Regions from separate parts of the Homo sapiens genome. Here all the other regions are linked to region 2. Evidence: promoter capture Hi-C in human tissues and cell types (Jung and others, 2019). All regions are on one chromosome and are shown on one strand. The core of a region is centred on a gene start or on the middle of the fragment in contact, and the rest is flanking DNA. Distances in the headings are between cores, read along the strand shown.

Region 1 (3,165 bases), core at 575-3,074, 220 kb before region 2:
GACATGTACCCTGGAAGTTAAAATTAAAGTTGAAGGAAAAAAAGAGTTTTTCAAGTTCTAAAAAAAAAAAAAAAAAAAGCGGGGATAAAATAAGGTAACTAAGCATTTCATATGGATGCTGAAATAAAAACTAAGATTACTCTTTTATGTGATTCATTTCTGATGTTTTTTGTTTGAGGCTTTTATCCCAATTGATAAAGAAAAAAAGCCATTAAAATGTCCTTTAATTGAAGAAGAAGTGGTAGAAATTACACCTTTAACATTACTGGAGCAATACTTTGAAAGTAAATCACTTAGCAGTCAGAATAACAATTTGGAATTGTAACCAAATAGTCAAATACAGCTGGGAGACCTAGAATTCAACAGAACATTGTTTTAACGCTCAAGAACTGTGTGACCTAACAGATGGGAAGAATATATAAGAATAAAGCTTAATTAACCAACTATGTAAACAGAACCAATCACTATTCATAGTTCCCTTAAAATTAAGATTTGCTAAACTTAAAAGATTTGCATGCTGTAAAAAAAAATCAAAAACAAAAACCTGACAATTTTAATTCCCTCAACAAATGTTTTATTGTTGATGACACAATTTACATATTTTATATTGTGCATCTACTAACAAGTTTTTGTAGTTATAGTTATTCTTAATACTTGTCTTTTAACTCTTATACTAAAATTATTTATATACTATCTTTACAGTATTCAAATATTCTGTATATGTGTATATATTTGCCTTTGCCTGTGAATTGTATACTTTTGTATGCTTTCATGTTGCTGTATAGCATCATTTTGTTTCAACTTAAAGAACTCCTTTCAGCATTTTTTATAAGGCAAATCTACTGGTGATGAACTCCCTCAGCTTTTGTTTATCTGGGAAAGCCTTTCTCTCTACTTCATTTCTGAAGGACAGTTTTGCTGGGTACTGGTTGACAGGGTTTTTTTTGTTTCCTTCAGTATTTTAAATATATCATCCTGCTCCCTTCTGGCCTACAAGGTTTTGGCGGAGAAATCTGCTGATAGCAGATTTATGGAGGCTCTCTTATATAAGACAAGTCCTTTTCATCTTGCTGCTTTCAAAATTCTCTTTGACTTTTGACAATTTGACCACAATGCATCTCAGCATGGATTTCTTTGGATTCCTGTTTTTTTAATTATACTTTAAGTTCTAGGGTACATGTGCACAACGTGCCGGTTTGTTACATAGGTATACAAGTGCCATGTTGGTGTGCTGCACCCATTAACTCGTCATTTACATTAGGTATATCTCCTAATGCTATCCCTCCCCCCTCCCCCCTCCCCTCACCTAACGACAGGCCCCGGTGTGTGATGTTCCCCTTCCTGTGTCCCAATGTTCTCATTATTCAGTTCCCACCTATGAATGAGAACACACGGTGTTTGGTTTTTTGTCCTTGTGATACTGTGCTGAGAATGATGGCTTCCAGCTTCATCCATGTCCCTACAAAGGACATGAACATCTTAAAGGGGTTGTTTGGACTTCAAGGATCAATGTTCATTTCCCTCCCCAGATTTGGGAAGTTTTCAGCCATTGTTTCTTTAAATAAGTTTCCTGCTCCTTTCTTTTCCTTGCTCTCCCTCTTCCTCTCTCTCCTGCCCCACGTGTGATAATTCCATATTGAGCATATTGGTTTGCTTGATGGTGTCCCATTAGTTTCTTAGGATTTCTTCCCTCTTTTTCCTTTCTGATTCTCTGAATGGATCATTTCAAATGACCTATCTTCAAGTTGACTCGCTCCTCTATTTGATCAAGAATGCTGTTGAAGTTCTCCATACAATTTTCATATTACTTATTGTATTCTTCAGCTCCAGAATTTATGTTTGATTCTTTGCTTTCTTATGGTTTCTATCTCTTTGTTGGTATTCTCATTATTTTCACTTTTCATTTTCCTCATTTAATTTAGTTGCCTGTATTCTCTTGTAACTCATTTAGTTAAGTAATCTTTAAGACTATTATTTTGAGTTGTCTTGAGGGCAATTCATAGAACTCCTTTTCTTTAGGGTCTGTTATTGAATATTTATTTTGTTCCTTTGATTGTGTCATGTATTCCCGATCCTTCATCTTCCTTGCAGCTTTGCTTTGGGGCCTGCACATTTGAAGAAACAACCACTTCTCCCGGTCTTTATGGACTGACTTCAATAGACAAAGACCCTCACCAATCAGCCCAACTCAGATTCTGGGAACCTGTCAAACCTTTTCTATGAATGTACGCACTTCATTCCTCCATCCAGCCTGAGAGTCTCAGGGTTCTGTGCCTTCTCCCAATCTCTCAAAGAAATGATGGCCACAGTAAGCTGCCCATCTCTTTTCCCTGTGGCAGTACTCTAAAATTCCAGGATGTATGCTTCATTCTTCCTTTCCCTTCTGAGGGAGAAGACTCACAGATATGCATCTTCTCCCAACCCTCCAGAGCTCTACTGGCCACAGTTGCCTGCCCTCCACTTTTTTCTAGAGTGATGCATTGAAATGATGGGATATTGCTCCCACTCCTCACCCTCCCTCCTGCAGAAATCTTAGGGTTGTGCACTTTTCCCGATCTTGCAGAGGCAAGCTAGCTGCAGTGAGCCTCTCACTCCTTTTCTTTGTTCTTAGCTTCCCCTGCATGTTTAAATTATGCTGGCTACTCCAGCACTCTGGGTGAGGTGGGATAGAAAGAGGTCATTCAAGCAGCACCCACAAATGCTAGAGATGTTTGATGTACAGTCCTCTTTTTCTTTGCCCCACTGGAAGAGTCACAATCTGGGACAAATTCTCTCTTAACCAGCTGGGAGAAGGGACTGACAAAGGTAAGAGTGAAATTGCTCTTCTTAGCCATTTCAACGTGTCTACTCTGTTTTGTGCTCCTCTGGAGTACTGCGACTTCTTCACTGGATACTGGACCTCTTATAAAGGTATTTTTCTTGGTATACCATTGTTAAATCTGTGTTTCTGTAGGGGGATGAGAGCTGAAACTTCTTATTCTGCCAAATTGCTGATGTCATGAAAGACTACTATTTTCTGGTTGGGCTCTATTCCACTACAACACAGTAAATGAAAAATTATCTGGAGAAAAAGGCCAAAGTAAACATGAAGCTCTCCTTGTGTGCATCCCTTCCTTCAAAGATCATAGCCTCTCAAGATCTTGCCCAACCAATTGTTCTCCAGTG
Region 2 (3,312 bases), core at 235-2,734:
GTTTCAGAAAGTTACCTTTTAAAACAAGATCTTCTACCAGAATAGAAGACCTCTCTGCTGGTCCTCGAATTTAAATAAATTCAATTTTCACACGATAACCTGCCTGATAGCATTCCAAAACATTCGTTACCACTGCAGTTTCAAGTTATTTTGTAGTGAATTGTGAACTAAATCTTGATTAAATTGCGGTAAAGATGGGAAACAAAAATCTATGTTTAGACAGGTTTCCTATCTAAAATTTTCCATTACGAGCTTAGGAAAAACAAAACCTGTACACTCAACATTTTAAATCTGTTTCTAACTGAACAAGATGATAGGTGATGCAATGAGGCTTAACTCTATCATGTAATTGCCACAAAACACTAACATTGTAAAACATTCAATACTTTAAATTACTGAATATTCTTTTTAAAGAAGTTGAATATTGTAAGAATTATTTAGCTTCTGGAGTTTAACACTTACAACATTAAAAAAAGGTTTCTAAGAGGAATAAGGTCTCATCTGAAAACAGGGTTTAAAAAAAAAACCGTATAAACATTGATACATGTCCAAAAACATTTCCCATCGTAAGGTATTATTTCTAATACTAAAGGCAAAACAAATTAAAACAGATCAAACATTTGCAGTCAAATGTCCAAATTTTTGAACTGGGAAAATGATGTCAACGTTTTTCATCCGTTTTCTTGTAAGGTTCCAGATCAAAAATAAACAGCCATCGGGCTCATCAATTCAGGTGCGGAAACTCATTAAAATCGAGCTTTTGGAGGGGAGAAAACATATTCCCAGAATTTGGTTTATCGGGTAAAATTGCCCCGTGGCCCACACCAGAAACCTCGGGCAACTGCCCGGGCCTTGCCCACCCCTCCCGCGGGCCGCACCTGCCAAGGCCGCACCGCCAGCGCCCCCTGCCGCCCTCTCTGCACAGAGACCCGCGCCCACCCCCGCACCCGCACCCGCACCCGCACCTGCCCCCACCCCGCGCTCGCCCCGCGCCGAGGCCGCGCAGCCTGCGGGCAGTGGCGGGGGCACGAGGATGCGAATCCAGGCGGGGCCGGGAGCTGGGCGCGTCCCCCAGAACCCCCGCCACGGCCAGGCCTGAGCCTCACCTACCTACGCCGTATTTCTCCTCCTCCGTGGGGGTCCACATGGCCGTGCCGGGCGCGGCCCCGCGGGCGCGGCGACCGGGCGACAACGCGGCGGGGACGGCCGCGGGCCCGGCTGTGGCGCACCGCGAGTCGAGGCGGGGACGGTCAGGCGGCGCGGGGCAGTGGGCGGCGCATCCCTCACAGGCCGTCCGGGATGCCGCCGCCACCCCCGCCACGTCTGGACCGCGAGGCTCCGCGGGTGGCCCAGCAGCCCCTGGCGGCGCGGGCGAAGGCTCGCCACCTGTCCGTCGCCGCTGCTCCCGTGCCGCCGCTTGCTTCTTCACAGCTCCGCCGCCCGGCTCCCGGCGCCGCCGCGGCTCGGCTCGCCCCAGCGGGCTCGCAGGACGCCCGCGCATGCGCCACTCCCTGCCGCGCAGGGGCTCGCGCTGCCCGGGCTCGCGCCGTCCCGAGCCCGCGCGCGAATCCACGCGCCGCTGCTGCGCGCCAGCGGAGGGAAATCCGCGAGAAGCTATTGGACTGCCCGGCCCCGGACCGGCTTCTAGAATCGCTGGTCCGGGGCCCTCAGCTGCAGCAAACCCCGGAGGGGGCGAAGCCGGTCAGGTGGGCGACTCCCTCTACCCGGACTCCCCACTCGCTTCCGCTTCCAGTGCCTCCTGCCTGCGCCCCGAGATGGCCACAGGCCTCCTGGTCGGAGAGGGGAGATCCAGAAAAGGAGGACACGACACCATTTTCAGACCCATCCCAGTGTCACCCACAGTGCTGTCGGAAAGGTCCCCGGAGCCACCCTGTGCATTCCCAGGGCCCGCAGGATGGAGTCGCCACGAGGGAACCAGGTGGGGTGCACTCGTGCCCCTCTCTCCTGGATCCCCTGTGGGCTGAGGCCGCTGACACCTCCTGGGTTCTTGCTTCTCTGAGATGGCCTGAGTGGTGAATGTTTGGGGCCAGAACAATCAACAGCCGCCTTGCTAGTAAGGAAGAGCTTCATTGGGCCCTTCGTGTTCCTACCCAGGACACGGCATCTGCTGCTCCTGGGTGTCTGCCTCCCTTGGAGCCCTAAGAACTGGCTCCTACCGGAAACTTTCCTCCTCTCTCTCCTCCCTAAGAATCCATTCATTCTGATGCCTGTAAATGTCACCTTGTGACCCCCAAGTCAACCACTTACCAAAGAACAGGAACTGCAGGACTTCTCCTTTCCACCTACATTTGGACCACATGCTCTAATCCCAGCAGATTTGCCCATCTCTGTCACTAGCACTACTAAGTCAAAACCCTGGTGTCATCCTTCACTAGCACTCTCAGACACCACCACTCTTCAAAGCCCAGCTCAGCCCCTCACCTCCAGGAAGCCTGCCCTGACCCATAGTCTCCTTTCCTTCTTTGTCTGGAATTGGAGCTATGTTCGGTTTGTCTTATTTCCCTTATAAGACTGTCAGCTCCCAGAAGGCAAGCTCCAGGCTAAAATCAACTTTCTAAACCCTCACCACCAACCCAGCACCTGTTGTATAGTTGTTGCATGGGAAGCCAGACTAATAGAAGAATATCTTGCAATCAACAGATCTTGTTGATTCTTCGTTCAAAGTGTCATGATTGGTAACTCCTCCCAGGCCTGACTGTGCTCCCCTGGGTTATGGCCACCCCTTCCCACCTTCGGACCTTTAGGCTCCTCCTCTCACTAATCATAGCTGCCCACTCCCGCCCAGAAAAATGTCTGTTCTGTGAATGATAGAATTTCTCAATAGCCAGGTACACTTCTTTTTAGGGGTAGCAGGGGTGTCCAAGAACATAACGAAAGAGCTAACTGTTCCAAGAAGATAGACCCCTCCCCGGTGGCCACCATGGAAGTATTCTATGGAATGAAGCCACATTCTTACAAAACTCTCCAGGTAGCTATTCAACAAGTGGGGCTGAGCTACGCAGGCCTTCAGGGAACAACCTTAAAGCTCTTATTTCATCCTCTAAGTTCACTCCCTTGTCTGCTGTATGTGATGACAGTCACAGAGCCTAAGGGCCAGTTTTTCCAAAGTTTATACTCTTGTTCCCAGTCTGAATCCATCTTAGATTATGGCTTTCCCAGATGAAGAAAATTCTCCATGATTGCACACCTCAGCTCCAGGGTGGAAGGGCATTAAACCCAACCAGGGAAGGGAAAAGAAGGGACCAAAGTGAGAAGGAAGGGACTTAGTAAGCCTGGACTCCTACACTCTTG
Region 3 (3,274 bases), core at 582-3,081, 230 kb before region 2:
CTAAGTAAAAAGAACAAAGCTGGAGGCATCACACTACCTGACTTCAAAATATACTAAAAGCCACAGTAACCAAAACAACATGGTACTGGCATCAAAAACAGATACATAGAGCAATGAAACAGAATAGAGAACAAAAATAAATCCACACATATGAAGTCAACTCATTTTTGTCAAATGTGGCAAAAACATACATTGGAGAAAGGACAGTATATTCAATCAATGGTGCTAGGAATACTAACTATCCATGTGTAGAACAATGAAACTAAACCCCATTTCTCACCACATACAAAAGTCAATTTGAAATGGATTAAAGACTTAAATGTAAGACTTGAAACTATGATACCACTAGAAGAAAACATAGGGAAAATTCTCAGCACATTTGTCTGGGCAAAGATTTTTGGAGCGAGACCTCAAAGGAAAAATAACAAAAGCAAAAACAGACAAATGGGATGATAACAAGCTAAAAAGCTTCTGCACGGATAAAGAGGCAATCAAGAAAGTGAAAAGACAACCTATAGAAAGGGGGAAATATTTGCGAACTATTCATGTGACAAAGGATTAATAACCACCATATATAATGAACTCAATTCCACAGCAAAAAGACAATCCAAAAAAAAAACAGACAAATGAGGGAAGGCATAGCAAGATGGCCAAATAGAACCCTCCAGCAATCATCCTCTGCAGGAACACCAAATTGAACAACCATCCATGCAAGAAAGCACCTTCTTAAGAACTAAAAATTAGAGGTGAGTGGACAGAGCACCTGGTTTTAACATGATATCAAGGAAAGAAGCATTGAAGAGATAAGAAAGACTGACTCACATTGCCTACACCACCAATCCCCATCCACCATCAGCACATGGAGAGACAATCTGTGTACTTGGGGGAGGGAGAACAAAGTGACTGTGGGGCTTTGCATTGGAACTCAGTGATTCCTTATCACAGCAGAACATAACACAAGGCAGAATTTGGCCAATGCCCATGGAGTGGGCTCTTAGAGCACCTTCAGCCAGAGGGTAATCTTACACCCCAGCAGTAGGCACCTGAGTGGTGGCTAGCCCCACCACCAGTTCACTAAAGTGCCCCTGGGTTCTGAACAAATTTGAAATGCAGTCTAGGCCAAAAGGACTGCAGTCATTGGACAAGTCCTGGGGCTGTGCTGGGCTAAGAGCTGCTGGACTTGGGGTGCACATGACCCAGTGACACATGAGATGGGGCAGCCAAAGGAATGATTGTGTCACCAGTGGAAAAGATCTCTCCCTGAGCTGCACTGCCTAGAGTGTAAGGAGGGGTGATGCTGGAAACTCAAAAAGCCAGAGTGCCTTTTCTTCTCCAAATGACTGCAATACCTCTCCAGCAAGAGCACAGAACTGGTCTGAGGCTGAGATGGCTGAAATGACAGGAGCAGGCTTCAGGAGGTGGGTAATAATGAACTTCACTGAGATAAAGGAGCATGTCCTAACCCAATGCAAAGAAGCTAACAATCATGAAAAAACAATATAAGAGCTGATAATGAGAATAGCCATTTTAGAAAGGAGCATAACTGACCTGATGAAGCTAAAAGTAAAACACAGGAAATTCACAATGCAATCACAAGTACCAATAGCAGAACAGACCAAGCAGAGAAAAGAATATCAAAGCTTGAAGACGATCTTTCTGAAATAATACAGGCAGACAAGAATAGAGAAGAAAGAATGAAAAGGAATGAACAAAACCGCTGAGATATATGGGATTACATAAAAAGACCAAACCTACAACTGATTGAGTTACCTGAAAGAGATGGAGAGAACAGAACTAGGTTGGAAAACATACTTCAGGATATCATCCAGGAGATCTTCCCCAACCAAGCAAGACAGGCCAACATTCAAATTCAAGAAATCCAGAGAACCTCAGTAAGATACTCCACAAGAAGATCAACCCCAAGACACATAATCATCAGATTCTCCAAGGTCAAAATGAAAAAAAAAAAAAAAAAAACGTTAAGGGTAGCCAGAGAAAAAAGACAGGTCATCTACAAAGGAAAGCCCACCAGAATAACAGCAGACCCCTCAGTGGAAACCCTACAAGCCAGAAGAGATTGGAAGCCAATATTCAACATTCTTAAAAAAATTTCCAACCCAGAATTTCACATCTGGCCAAACTAAGCTTCATAAGCGAAGAAGAGATAAGATCCTTTTCAAAGAAGCAAATGCTGAGGGAATTCATCAACACGCCTGCCTTGCAAGAGCTCCTGAAGGAAGCACTCCATATGGAAAGGAAAGACCATTACTAGCCACTACAAAAACGCACTGAAGTACACAGAAGAACAGTGACACTATGAACAACCACATGAACAAGCCTGCAAAATAACCAGCTAACACCATGATGACACGATCAAATTCACACATAACAGTATTAAACTTAAATGTTAATGGGCTAAATGCCCCAATTAAAAGACACAGAATGGCAAGATGGATAAAAAGTTAAGACCATTGGTATGCCGTCTTCAGGAGACCCATCTCACGTGCAAAGACATACATAGGCTCAAAATAAAGAGATGGAGGAAAATTTACCAAGCAAATGGAAAACAAAAAAAAAGCAGGGATCACAATCCTACTTTCTGACAAAACAGACTTTACATTATCAAATATCAAAAAAGACAAAGAAGGGCATTACATAATGATAAAAGGTTCAATTCAATAGAAAGAGCTAAATAACCTAAATACATATGCACCCAATAGAGCAGCACCCAGATTCATAAAGCAAGCTCTTAGAGACCTACAAAGAGACTTAGACTCCCACAAAATAATAGTGGGAGACTTTAAAACCTCACTGACAATATTAGATCATCGAGACAGAAAATTAACAAAGATATTAAGGACCTGAACTAAGGTCTGGATCAAGCGAACCTGATCGATATCTACAGAACTCTCCAACCAATACCAACAGGATATACATTCTTCTGATTGCCACATGGCACTTACTCTAAAATAGATCACATAATCAGAAGTAAAACACACCTCAGCAAATGCAAAAGAACTAAAATCAAGACAGTCTCTCAGATGACAGCACAATCAAATTAGAACTCAATGTTAAGACACTCACTCCAACCCTCACAACTACAAGGAAACTGAACAACCTGTTCCTGAATTGACTACTGGGTGAATAATTGAGGCAGAAATCAAGAAGTTCTTTGAAAATAATGAGAACAAAGAGACAATGTAACAGAATCTCTGGGATGCTGCTAAAGCAGGGTTAAGACACAAGTTTATAACACTAAATGTCCACATCAAAA

The links. The method cuts DNA at HindIII sites, captures the fragments that hold promoters and counts their contacts. A contact is called where the count stands out against the background at its distance.
Region 1: a fragment that was not itself captured here is called in contact with the fragment with the promoter of DOCK3 in region 2 in 1 of the 25 tissues and cell types used here (dorsolateral prefrontal cortex).
Region 3: a contact is called between a fragment that was not itself captured here and the fragment with the promoter of DOCK3 in region 2, in 3 of the 25 tissues and cell types used here (H1 embryonic stem cells, dorsolateral prefrontal cortex and mesendoderm cells).

Annotation. Positions count from the first base shown.
Region 1 is chr3:50,892,118-50,895,282 of GRCh38, reverse strand. The region is part of intron 4 of DOCK3 (dedicator of cytokinesis 3); the gene reads right to left. Among named protein-coding and RNA genes, the nearest start is that of MIR4787, 220 kb to the right of the region's middle. The HindIII fragment of the contact is 4,411 bases long and covers 1-3,165 here.
Region 2 is chr3:50,673,099-50,676,410 of GRCh38, reverse strand. It overlaps DOCK3 (dedicator of cytokinesis 3), which reads right to left and starts at 1,484. Exons shown (of 53, transcript NM_004947.5): 1 at 1,111-1,484. The coding sequence starts at 1,147. It overlaps MIR4787 (microRNA 4787), which reads right to left and starts at 1,331; the gene lies at 1,248-1,331. RefSeq lists a silencer at 1,231-1,520. The HindIII fragment of the contact is 18,901 bases long and covers 1-3,312 here.
Region 3 is chr3:50,908,345-50,911,618 of GRCh38, reverse strand. The region is part of intron 4 of DOCK3 (dedicator of cytokinesis 3); the gene reads right to left. Among named protein-coding and RNA genes, the nearest start is that of MIR4787, 230 kb to the right of the region's middle. The HindIII fragment of the contact is 3,969 bases long and covers 1-3,274 here.